4 separate regions of the Homo sapiens genome follow, and regions 1, 3 and 4 are each linked to region 2. The links are contacts of gene promoters, found by promoter capture Hi-C in human tissues and cell types (Jung and others, 2019). All regions are on one chromosome and are shown on one strand. Each heading gives the region's core, a stretch centred on a gene start or on the middle of the fragment in contact. The rest is flanking DNA. Distances are from core to core; before and after follow the strand shown. Region 1 has its middle 8.1 kb from the start of PNPLA5. Region 2 holds the start of ATXN10 (ataxin 10). Region 3 overlaps CERK (ceramide kinase). Region 4 overlaps SAMM50 (SAMM50 sorting and assembly machinery component).

Region 1 (3,070 bases), core at 552-3,051, 1.8 Mb after region 2:
AATAATCCAGTGGGGAAATGGGGGAGAGAGAGGGTGGTCCAGTTGGAAGGCTACAGCACCAGCAGGCACTCATGTTGAGAGGGAGGGTGGCTGGACCATGGAGCAAAGACCGGGTCAGGATTGAGGAAGGAGCATTGGCGGGAGGTGGCCACCAGCCAAGGGTGAGTGAGAAGGCATCAAGAGCCTCTCTCAGCCAGGCGCAGTGGCTCACACCTGTAATCTCAGCACTTTGGGAGGCTGAGGCAGGCGGATCACAGGAGATCAGGAGGTCGAGACCAGCCTGGCAAACATGGTGAAATCCCATCTGTACCAAAAATACAAAAATCAGCCAGGCATGGTGGCAGGTGTCTGTAATCACTGCTACTTGGAAGGCTGAGGCAGGAGAATCACTTGACCCTGGGAGGTGGAGTTTGCAACGAGCTGAAACCGTGCTACTGCACTCCAGCCTGGGCAACAGAGCAAGACTCTGTCTCAAAAAAAAAAAAAAAAAAAAAAAAAAAAGCCCCTCTCAGGTGTCTGCCCTGGCAGGGTGACAGGTACTCGTGGGTTTGGTGACAAGGTGATGGCAGGGTGACAAGGCCCTGGTTCCTGCTCCCACTCCTTAGCTGCCTTTGTCTCTCCTGTGGCCTCCTCTGCCTGCTCACTGGGCCACCAAGCCACGCTATGGCTTGTCCAGCACCCTGGCCAATGCCAGGCTTGGCACCTCCCCCACTGGGTGCCGTGTCTCTTGGCAGCCCGGGTTCCAGGGGTGGTCTGTCCATACAGCCCTTGGCTGGTTACCTGGAGCCCCCCAGGCCCACCCCTACCCATGATGGGTACCCAGAGAGTGCTGGAGACAAAGCTCCTGGGCAACTTTCTCCCTGACTGTGTTGCTGGCTGGCTCTCGGCCCTGAGAGGGCTCTGCTGGGGGCTCAGTCCCCATCCCCTCCTCCTTGTCTTCCAAGCCAGGAAGCTTTATTTTCCCCCTCCAGGAGGATGGAGCCCAGGCTTCATGGGGTGCTCCTATCTGAGCTCAGGTTCTGTGAGGGGCCTAGTGGCTTCCAGTTCCCTGTGCAGGGGAGTGTGGGGTGCGCACAGAAAGGAAAGCACGATTCTGGAACCACAGGGCAAGTGTGACTGGAGGGTTTCTGACCCCCCCGTTCTGATCCTGGCACTGACATTTCCTGGCTGCTGGGCCCTGGGTTATTTACGCAAATTTTCTGAGTCTCAGCTCCCTGTTAAGCGGGGGTGATATGCCTGCCACTCAGCAGGGGTGTCGAGGGTTAAGTGCTCTCTGGAGCTGAGTCCTCAGAAGGCACCAGGAGCTGGTGGCTTGGTTATTGTCATGATTGGCAGCTGGAGGTAGAGCAACCTGCTGTGGGAGACAGTCACCATCCCCATGTCCTGGGACGTGACGGCCACTGCTGTGCCCAGCACCTTTGGCACATCCCTCATCTCATCCTCACAATTGCTCAGGGAGAGGTGGCCCTGAACACCTCCATTTCACAGATGGGAAGACTGAAGTGCTGTCTTAGTCGGTCTTCTGCTGCTATCACAGAAAACCTGAGACTGAATCATTTATAAAGAAAAGGGACTTATTTAGCTCACGGTTCTGGAGGCTGGGAAGTTCAAGACTGAGGAGCCACATCAAGTGAGGGATGTCTGGCTGCATCATAACATGGCACAGGGAGAGGAAGGGAGAGCAAGACAGGCCGGACCCACAGGATAATGGCTGGAGTGCAATGGCGTGATCTCAGCTCACTGCAACCTCCACCTTCCAGGTTCAAGCAATTCTCCTGCCTCAGCCTCCTAAGCAGCTGGGATTACAGGCACCTGCTGCCACGCGCAGCTAATTCTGTTGTATTTTTAGTAGGGATGGGGTTTTGCCATGTCAGCCAGACTGGCCTCAGACTCCTGACCTCAGGCGATTCACCCAGCTTGGCCTCCCAAAGTGCTAGGATTACAGGTGTGAGCCACCACACCCGGCCCTGATTACCTCTTAAAGGTCCCATGTCTTAATACTGTCACAATGGCAATTAAATTTCAACCTGAGCTTTGGAGGGGATACAGTAGGCACAGGCACAGCAGGGTCAAGTGACTTGTTCAAGGTCTCTGACCTGGTCAGTGGCAGAGCTGAGATTAGAAACACGTCTGTCAGTTTGCAAAGCCCATGCTGACTGCCTGGCAACACAGCCACCCAAGACAGGCAAGGAGAGGGCTTCCGGGGCCAGGGGAAGGAGACAGCCCACCCAGAGCCCTTGTGCAATGCTTTCTGGCACAACAGGGCCTCCTGAAAAGACAGGTGGCAGCCTGGGGCACAGACTGGAGCCACTCTGCCTGCCAGTTCCCAGCTGGGTTAACCTGGGCAAGTTGCTTCATCTCCCTGGGCCTCAGTGCGAAATGCAGATAATCCAAGCACCTCACCTCCTGAGTTGTCATGAGGTAATCAGCTAATGATTAGAAAGTTACTTCACCTCCACTGGGCGCAGTGGCTCATGCCTGTAATCCCAGCACTTTGGGAGGCCAAGGCGGGCAGATCATGAGGTCAGGAAATCGAGACCATCCTGGCCAACATAGTGAAACCCCGTCCCTAATAAAAATACAAAAAAAAAAAAAATTAGCCAGGCATGGTGGCAGGTGCCTGTAGTCCCAGCTATGTGGGAGGCTGAGGCAGGAGAATCGTTTGAACCCAGGAGGTGGAGGTTGCAGTGAGCCGAGATCACACCACTGCACTCTAGCCTGGTGACAGAGCAAGACTCCATCCCCTGCCCTACAAAAAAAGAAAGTTACTTCATCTCACATTTCACTGTGCCTCTATTTCCCAATCTGTAAATCAGGGCTGACGGCAGTGGTTTGCTGAAAGGATTGAAGAAATTAACCCGGGTAAAATGCTTCCAGGGGTGCCTGGGACATTACACACTCAATCTGCATCAGCCATCATCTCTCCAGCCTGGCCCCCTCCTCCTTATCACTCCCCACACAGGGTCCTGCTTCCTTGAACAGCCAATCTGCTCTAACATCTTTGCTTATGCTGCTTCTGCTGCCTGGCAGAGGCCCTAGCCCCAGATATCCTATTTGTCATTTAGGTGTC
Region 2 (3,197 bases), core at 629-3,128:
CCACCACCTCTTGTATAGATTTCCATTACAATGTGTTTATTTAGCTATTTCCCAAATATGCCTGATAAAAGGGATCACTCACATCATTCCTCTCTGTACCCTCAGACCCCAACAAAAAAATCTGTTTCATAGTAGGTGCTCAATAAATGGTTGATGACTGGGTTATTAACTAAAAGGAGGGTCCATCATGATACAGAAATGCCTAAGCATTAAATCAATAAATACATCTCCCCCAAAGGCCCATAGAGCAGTACCAGGGACTTTTATTAATAGCATTCCTTCAGCAGCTCCACATTTCCCAAAGTGATGTGAGGTAAAGGAAGTGCTCAGACCAGGTGTCTAGTTTAAAGAGAGGAAGTCCTCTAGTGATCACCTAGGCTGACCCAAGTCTCAGTATTTCTTTCTTCAATGTTCCCTCTGCTTTGTACATACATACCCCCACAGCTGTGTTATCTTGTACATACTAGTACAGGAGAGAGCAAGGACTTTCCATTTTCCTACCCCATCACCTAGCACAATAGCTGATACATGGGTAACTACCAATCAATGTGTTAAGTGATAATATCAGCTACATTTAGTGCTATGTACAGGTATGTCCTAAGGATTTAATATGCATTATATCTCATTTACTCCTTATGACACTATCACCAGGGAGGTACTGTTCAACTTTACTCCCATTAAATAGACAAGAAAACTGAGGCCCAGAGGACAGAACAAGATCAAACAAGCATTGACTGAGGGCTTCGCACATTTTATATTTTCACGTACTTTATTTCATTTATTCCTCTGTACAATCCAGCAACTAAGCTGTGTATTATAGTCCCATTTTTAGACAAGAATTCTAAGGCCTGGAGAAACTGCACAGTAACACGCAGCTTGCAAGGCCAGGAACCAAATCCACAACTGTCGACTCCTGGGCACCTTCTCTTTTTGCCTGGCTATCTTGCCCCTCAGTGGCATCAGGACTGGACTGGTCTCTCCAGGCCCGTGCTCTTCCACACTGCACAGAGCGCTGCCCCCAGGGCAGATGGTGCAGCCTGGGCTCTAACGCCGAGGAGAAAGGAGTGCCAGTCCCACTCCATGCCTAGAGACTGCCATCCCCGCAACTGCCCAATTCCCGCGTCCGTAACACGGGTCTCTCCCGCTAAAACACACGCTTTATGACTCTGGGGGCCGCGTGGGTCTTGCAGCCAGGGCCTGGCGCAGCCCTCGCACATGACAGGGGAGGCCTAACCGTGTGTTGGGTCAACATCACCGGCACGCCGCGGCAAGGGCTCCCGGGATCGCGGCTTCGCACCCGGACTGGCTGCGGTGGGGGAGCGGGGCGCCCGCCCCAGGCCCCGCGGGGACCCACGAGCACGAGGCGGTGCCTGGGAGTCGGGAGGCCTGGGTGGCGCTCAGGCAGCCCGCGCAGGCCTCGCCCTCCGCGTCTCCAGCGAGGCGGGGGCGGCGCCTGGGTCCAGGCCGGGGCCGCCGCGGGAGTCCCGGCCGCCCTCCCCTGCCCGGGGCAGCCCCCCGGCCGGACCCGTTACCGGTTCCGCTGCTCTTTGAAGAGCGCCGTGAGCGCGCGCAGGGCCTCCAGGTCTTGGATGGGCGCCGGCACCATGACGCCCGACAGCCTGGCAGGCGGCGGCCTGGGCGCCGCCATCTTGCCGCTCACAGCTGGGTCGAGCCTGACGAGGAGGAGGAAGGCGAGGAGGACGAAGGGGGAGGATGACGAGGAGGGAGGAGTAGGATGGCGAGGAGGAAGGGGGAGGCCTCGCCCTACACAGCCCTAACCGCCGCCGCCGCTGCAGCCCGCGCTGCCCTGAAGCTGCGCCGCCGCCGGAGAGCTCTAGGCTGAGCCCAGACTCGCCTCAGGCGGGAGGAGGAGACGGCGCCGCGGGGGAGGGGGCGCCGGCGGAAGTCCCGCCTGAGGGGAGGGGGCGCGGCGGAAGTTCTGGGTGAGAGCGGGGAGGGATGCTGGGGGTGATTGACTGGGAAGCGTCGCAGACGGGGCTCCTCCGAGGGGAGGGGACGCCGGGGGGAGGGGGACCTGTGTTGATGTGGCCGTAACAGGGTCTCGGTCTTGGGAGCGGGTATCGGGAACCAGAGGTTCACCCTGAGAAAGAGGGGCGCGTCCTATAGGAGGGTGCCCGCGGACAGAGGGGTCTCCCCCAGGGGAGGGGATCCGGGGGGTAAGGGGCCTGTGGAGGGTGGGGCCGTAACAAGGTCTCGGTCTTGGGAGCGGGTATCGGGGACAGAGGTTCACCTTGAGGAAGAGGGGCCCTCCTGTGGGAGGGGGCCCGCAGACAGAGTGGTCTCCCCCAGGGGAGGACATTCTGGGTGGAGGGGACCCTCTTGGGAGGAGACGCTGACTGAGGGTCTCGGGAACGAAGGGGGCCGGGCAGAGGCTCCCACTGCTAAGGCTGAAGACCTTGATCCCACTGCTCAAGTGGGTTGATCAGTGCCCCCGCCCGGGTCCACTGGAAGCTGGAGCGGTCTGTCACTAGCTTGCAAGTCTCAGGCCCTGAAAACGCACTTCCCAGTACTTACTGATCATTGCTGATCAATACCAGACCACTTACCAGGCACTTTGCCTCTAGTGAGTATACATTGCTCCAGCTCCTCAAAGCCTTAAAATACCGTTCGAAGTCAAGAAGCTAAGTTACACAGCAATAGGGTTAGAATTGTTTTTTTTCCTAAGGGAAATGAATATATTTCACAGGAATCAGACAAGGCTTCTCTAGCTGGTGTTGATAACTCACATATTTTCTTTCCACTGCCCTTTATTACAGTGTATATACTTTCAACAAAAATTGTTGCTAAGCCCTGCGCTAGGTGCTGGAGATGTAAAGATTAATAAAAGACAGTTCCAAACCTGAAGGAACCTCACAGACTATTGAGAAGGAGAGAAGCAAACATAACTGAGTATAGTTGTGAACTGCTATAACTGTACAAATTGCTGTGGGACCACTTAAAATATATAAATACATACCCTTTACATTCTGCTTGGAGGGTAGGAGTGTGCTTATAACATGGCGCTTTTAACATTCTTTGCTAAATAAAATGTAAAGATAACAATAAACACCACCAGAGTATGCAGAAAAAGTGAATCCTGGTGGGGCATGGTGGCTCATGCCTGTAATCCCAGCACTTTGGGTGGCCAAGGCAGGAGGATTACTTGAGCCCAGGAGGTCGAGGCTGCAGTGAGCTGT
Region 3 (3,014 bases), core at 305-2,804, 1.0 Mb before region 2:
CATCACCACAGGCAGTGGCTGCAGCTCTGTCCCTCCCACCAGGATGAGAGCCCCGAGGCAGGAGACGCCTTCCGGGTCTCTGGATCCCCATCCTGGCCACAGGGCCTGAGATGCTCTCAGGAAAGCGGGTTTGGGTTCTGTGGCTGTGAGGCAGAAAGCACCCGGTTGTTCTGGAGCAGCACAGAGGGCATGGAAGGAGAATGAGCGTGTGGAAATGACACACTCTGTTGAGACACGTGGAGTTTTAGGTGCCGGTAGGACATCTGGGGCCCATCTAGGGGCAGACAGAAACCGGGACATCAGATGTCGGTGAGGCGCCACCCTGGAGGCTGCGTCTGGGTGATGAGGCAGCTGCCCCCCTGCCCCCTGCACTTGAGAGAGGAGCCGGCTTGGAAGGTTGCTGACCAGTGGGTCGGCCTCCTCCCAGGGCCGTGGACACGACGTCCTTGTGGGACCCCCATGGGAGGAGCAGGGAGAGAGGCCAGAGCCACTCTGCAGGGAGGCGGAGCTGCAGCCACCTGGAAGGGCCCGCCCGCTGAGTGCATTCCAGGCACCTGGCCCATGCCAGGTGCAAGACCCACAGACGGGGCTGTCCTAGGGACAGTCGGGAGCTGACTTTCAGGCACACAGATGTCCTAGGAGCCAGACTGCTCTTGCCGGCAGCTTCCCCCACCCCTGGGCGGTGCACACTTGGCTGTGGGCTTGCCATCTGCGGATGAGGATGTGAGGCCTCTGTGTGTCGGGGGTAAGGTTGTGTGTGACGGCCCTGCAGGCCGTCACTGCCACACCAGATGTCATACAGGGCAGCACCAGCCCCAGCATCAGACACGGAGGAGTGAAGTCGCCCTGAGACTCACAGGACACGGCCTGGCTCCTGGTGTGGCCCACGACACCCTGGGGCCCCTCTCCTGCCTCCTGCCCAGTCCCTGCTGTCCTGCTGGGTGGTGTTTCCCAGACAGCCCGGGTGCCAGGCTGCTGGCAGCCCCGTGGACAGCGCACACGTTTGCCTGGAGGGTGGCCCCAGACTTTGGGTGGCAGCGGCCCTGGCCTCTGTCCTGAGCTGTTCAGGACGTCACAGGGGCTGTGGCTGACCCCAGTGGGGGCCAAGCCCTGAGGCAGGTGGGGGCATCACTGACCCTCATGAAGAGGTGGAGGGGATGACCCTGAGCCACTGGAGCCCACAGGCCACATCATCGAGGCTATGAGGGGTGGCTAATGGCAAAGGCCCCACTTTGCCAGCGTCAAGAGTGGCCATAGCCCTGGCTGTCCCAGCATCACTGGGTGTCAGAAGGCACCAGCACTATGACTAGACGTGCTGTTGTCCTGAGGGAGGGCAGAGACCCTGCCACTGCCTTCAATGGTGACATGGCCTGAAGCAGGCCCGGCCTCTCCCTCCTGCAGACGGTTTAGGCAGATGCGCGCTCAGCGACATTTCTGAAGCTGCCCAGCACAGCATCCTAACCAAGCAATGACCCTTGTGGATGTTTTTTCTTCACTGCACTCTGTTCCCAGGTTTAAAGACCTTCCTCTCCCACCACTGCTATGAAGGGACAGTGTCCTTCCTCCCTGCACAACACACGGTGGGATCTCCAAGGGATAGGAAGCCCTGCCGGGCAGGGTAAGTGCATTGCTTTGTGTGTTTCTCTTGCAAATGACGGGAAATGAAGCAGGACGGTTAGGAAGGTGAATGCAGAAGTATTTTCCAAATGTGGTGGAAGGTGCCGGATGTAGCGTGCCCAGACACACGATGCCTATGATGCCCATGATGGCCTAGGCGTGCATGGGGCTTGCTGTCCCCATCTCTGTCCCCATGGCCTGCGCAGGCAGCTGCTGCTGTGCCAGGGATGAGGACTCTGGGGGAGGGTCCCACACCCACTGTTGGAGTGGGGGCTGAGCACAGGGTCTTTCCCTGCTGGGGTTCCCTTTACCCCCTGCAGGGGCCTGATGGAGGAGAAATGCAGGCAGGAAAGGATGGCAGACACCTTATCAGTGACTGTGCGTGTGCAGGGCACTGGTGGCAGGACCGTTGGTAGAGCTGGCTGAAGTGTGCACTCTCAGCAGCCACCCTCCTGTCCACACCCCTGGCTGAGACCCTCACCCATGTTAGCCCCATGCTCCAAGGCAGGAGCCCACTCTAAGGTTAGCAGAGCCCAGGCCAGCCACGCCTTCAACCCCACAGGAAGGCAGGGACCCTCAGCAAGAAGGCTCGGGCTGGCAACAAGGGCTGGTGCCAGGGGTTGGGGGGCAGAGCCAGGGCAGCTGCCCAGGGAGAGGGGATGCAAAGGGAAAGAGGCGCCCCACCGGGGAGGGGAGGCTGAGTGCAGACAACACAGCTGGAAACGCTGCGCTCTCCCCTTACATTTGGTCCCCCAGTTTGGCCACTGCAGGCTCTGCAATGGTGGCTACGCCACTGAACAAGCAGGGACTCCTTTCACCTGGCATATCTCCGCCCCCACCCCCACACAGTGTATTCAGTAATATGCGACCAGTGTAAATAGAACCTTAAATAAATCTAAACATAGTTGTCCCAGGCCGCATGACCTCCCTAGTGACCATGGAGGGCGCCTGAATGGTCATCCTGTCTCTGCTCTGCCTGGGGCTGAGGACACGGGGCTGTGGAGACAGCTGCGCCTTTGTGAAGGACACTCACGTCCTTTCCTTTTAAGTCATGCAGACTTCAGAACCTCCTTCTAGCTCCTTTCCTTTTTTAAGTGAAGAATTGGAGACCATAAAATCAGAATATGTAGAGGCAGATGCTGTTTGCGTCAGTGCATTAAAGAACTCGGCTGCTGATGAGCGATTTCCATCAGTGCAAACAGTGTCCTGTTTGACAGCGTGAATCCGGCAGCCCCCAAGATCAGAAGGACGTGCTAGACGAATGACTAAGTTCTAAGCTGATGGTTCTGAGTTATTTGCTTGTTATTGACTGTAACAGATAAACCCTGTATGATTTGTTTTCTGAAAGTAAATGAGTCCTCACCCCAGGAGTCCGCTGGGGGAACCAGTGCCTCAGT
Region 4 (3,140 bases), core at 273-2,772, 1.7 Mb after region 2:
CTGGCCCTCACCTCTCAGTCTCGCTAGAGAGTAAACTCTTCAAGAACTGGAAAAGCATATTCAAATTTCAAAGGTAATAAATTTAGGAAAAGTTTCATTTGAGACCCACAGTCTTTTTTCTGGGAGTAGGGAATGGAAATATAAATTTAAGTATAGTTTGAGTTTGTCCTTGATATATTTTTGGTTTTTGTCATAAATACAAAAGTGTGTTTGTCTAAACCTCCCACATAAAAATCACCAAGGAAGAGCGACTTCTTTAAAAATAGAAACTGTTTTTCTAAGAGTCATCAGTTTTTCTAGTTGTAGGTGGTTACAAACTCTTCTTTGATAAAGGCACGGAAACAGGTTAATTCCTTTACATCTCCCTAGTGGTGTATGGAAGTGAATGTTTCCACTAACAATTCTATCAAGACCTTCAACAGAAAACTCACATCTTTGTTTTCAAGAATTTCCTGTTTAGCTTCAGGCTCAACTTCAACAAATTCAGCTTCTTCTCCTAATCCTCCAAAATCAGGTCCACTTGATGGAAGAGGCTCCAAACTCTGAAAGGGAGGGAGCGACCACAGATAAATGACTTTGTCACATATATACACACACTTACCTTTGAGTTTTGTCTTTAGATGGTGCTGCAGAAAATTCAGTAGTTGTTCCCTTCAAGTAGAGGTAGGGGCAGGAATAGGGACCAGGGAGTAAAAAGGTGCCGTCAGCTATTGCTAATGAGCAAGTTCTTGGCTTGGTGGTTAACTCACTGGTGGTCACTAAATAAAATATAAAAACTAATTAACAGGGAAGGGCAGGGGGAGTGTGGTGGCTCATGCCTGTAATCCCAGCACTCTGGGAGGCCAAGGAGAAAGGATCACTTGAGGCTAGCAGCTTGAGACTAGCCTGCACAACACGGCAAGACCCCATCTCTAAAAAAAAAAAAAAAAAAAAAAAAAAAAAAAAATTAACCAAAAGGGTCACGCACAAATCCATGATGACATGTCATGGATGAAGGATTATGACCAACCTAATTCTGGACATCTGAGGCCCGATGGAAATTAAAAAATCATTTAAAAATAAAATGCCACAAAGGCATTTATCAGGGGAAAAAAGGAAAATAATTTGCTCTCCTGTTGTTACAGAAAGCATCCTAATTTTTAGAATTAAAATTGTACACATGTTAGGATAGCTACCTTGACAAACCAGATTACTAAGAAAACATTTTATGTAGACCCTGACAGGTTTTTTCATTTCAGAAAGTCTCATTCACATTAAAGGGAACTGCATATGCTCACAAAATGGACTCGAAAGCATCTCTTTCTATAATCTGAATTGATATTACCTCAAAATATTAAAGCAACTTCTGAATGAGCATTCTGTAGGCTGTGTCTCATCTAATATTTCCAGGAAGACATTGTATCTATCTATTTATCTATCTCTCTATATATATCTACATATAGTTAAGACAGACAGTCTCTGACTTACAATGCTTCAACTTACAGTTTTTTGACTTTACAATGATGCCAAAGTGATATGCGTTCAGGAGGAACTGCACTCCGAGCACCCACACAGCCATTCTGATTTTCACTTACAGTACTCAAGAAACTACATGAGATCTTCAACACTTTATTCTAAAATAGGCTTTGTGTTAGATGATTTTGCCCAACTGTAGGCTAATGTAAGTGTCGTGAGCACGTTTAAAGTAGGCTAGGCTAAGCTATGATGTTCTGTCGGATATGTGTATTAGATGCATTTTCAACTTACATTTCAACTTACGATGAGTTTATTGGGTTATAGTTGAGAAACATCTACATAAACATAATATCACATACACACACACACACAGACACACACACACACACATAATCACTTGAGCCTAGGAGTTTGAGACCAGCCTGGGCAATATAGGAGACTTCATCTCTACTAAAAATAGTAATAATAGTAAAAATAAAACATAAAGAAAGGTCAAGTATGGTGGGTCACACCTGTAATCCCAGCACTCTGAGAGGCCCAGATGGGAGGATTGCTTGAGCCCAAGAGTTCAAGATCATGCTAGGCAACATAATGAAGTCTCGTCTCTATTTTAAAATAATAGGCCAGGCACAATGACTCACACCTGTAATCCCAGAACTTTGGGAGGCCAAGGAGGTCAGATCACTTTAGGTCAGTAGTTTGAGACCAGCCTGGCCAACATGGTGAAACTCCATCTCTACTAAACAAATACAAAACTTAGCCAGGTGTGGTGGTGTGTGCCTGTAGTCCCAACTACTTGGAAGGGTAAGGCAGGAGAATCGCTTGAACCCAGGAGACAGAGGTTGCAGTGAGCTAAGATCACTCCACTGCACTCTAGCCTAGGTGACAGAGCAAGACTCCATCTCAAAAATAAAAATAAATATACTTATGTATACATTGTATTATATATACTTACATATTTAACATATACTATTTATTCAATTCTTATTTGTTCCTATGTTTGCTTGACCATAAGTCTCTGGGACACATGCTTAACCACACGAGGATTCCCAGTCACCTCTTAGAGATGGACACAGAAGGTCTAGTGTGGCACCAAGCGATTCTTACAAATCAGCAAGTTTGGAGAAAACTATGTGAACCAATATCTGACTATTTCCTTGCTCCAAGAATTCTCTACAATTAGGCACTTTTAAAGTGTGTGTTTAACATCTGCAAATATGGAGCAGTGGGGCCTCTGGGCTACTATCCACTTTTCCCCGGAAAGGTAACTGACCTGCCAGTATCATATTCCCTTTCCAGGCCCTTCCCTAAAAGCCTCTGATGATCCTCAGAAGTACCTAAAGGAAGAGCATCCATCTAGGTTCCTTAGCAGGGTACAAGGAACTCTGCCGTAAGGCCTGCATCTGCTACTCCAGTTTCCATCTCCACCACCCGCTCCACCCGCACATTCAGGCTTTTGCATACCTTGCCCCCTCTTCCAGAATAACTTGCCCCTATGAAGCTTCAAGATCCACCTTAATGTCATCTCCTGCAAGCCATTCCTGGCTTCTTTAGGGAGAATCGGTTCCTCTCTCACAGGGACACCTCTTGATACTTGAAGTCTGTGACCTTCACAGGTACCCCTTCTGTTTCTTTTTTTCTTTTGAGACAGAGTCTTGCTCTGTGGCCCAGGCTTGAGTGTAATG

The links. Contacts are between HindIII fragments. The study calls those that stand out against the background at their distance.
Region 1: a fragment that was not itself captured here is called in contact with the fragment with the promoter of ATXN10 in region 2 in 1 of the 25 tissues and cell types used here (spleen).
Region 3: a fragment that was not itself captured here is called in contact with the fragment with the promoter of ATXN10 in region 2 in 1 of the 25 tissues and cell types used here (dorsolateral prefrontal cortex).
Region 4: a fragment that was not itself captured here is called in contact with the fragment with the promoter of ATXN10 in region 2 in 1 of the 25 tissues and cell types used here (spleen).

Annotation. Positions count from the first base shown.
Region 1 is chr22:43,898,613-43,901,682 of GRCh38, reverse strand. No RefSeq gene overlaps it. Among named protein-coding and RNA genes, the nearest start is that of PNPLA5, 8.1 kb to the right of the region's middle. RefSeq lists an enhancer at 3,044-3,070. The HindIII fragment of the contact is 6,967 bases long and covers 1-3,070 here.
Region 2 is chr22:45,670,515-45,673,711 of GRCh38, reverse strand. ATXN10 (ataxin 10) reads right to left here and starts at 1,878. Exons shown (of 12, transcript NM_013236.4): 1 at 1,533-1,878. The coding sequence starts at 1,648. RefSeq lists silencers at 1,246-1,575, 1,906-1,955, 2,016-2,205. The HindIII fragment of the contact is 16,564 bases long and covers 1-3,197 here.
Region 3 is chr22:46,693,814-46,696,827 of GRCh38, reverse strand. It overlaps CERK (ceramide kinase), which reads left to right. Exons shown (of 13, transcript NM_022766.6): 9 at 1,513-1,618. Among named protein-coding and RNA genes, the nearest start is that of CERK, 43 kb to the left of the region's middle. The HindIII fragment of the contact is 4,822 bases long and covers 1-3,014 here.
Region 4 is chr22:43,960,688-43,963,827 of GRCh38, reverse strand. It overlaps SAMM50 (SAMM50 sorting and assembly machinery component), which reads right to left. Exons shown (of 15, transcript NM_015380.5): 2 at 432-542. Among named protein-coding and RNA genes, the nearest start is that of SAMM50, 6.8 kb to the right of the region's middle. The HindIII fragment of the contact is 9,146 bases long and covers 1-3,140 here.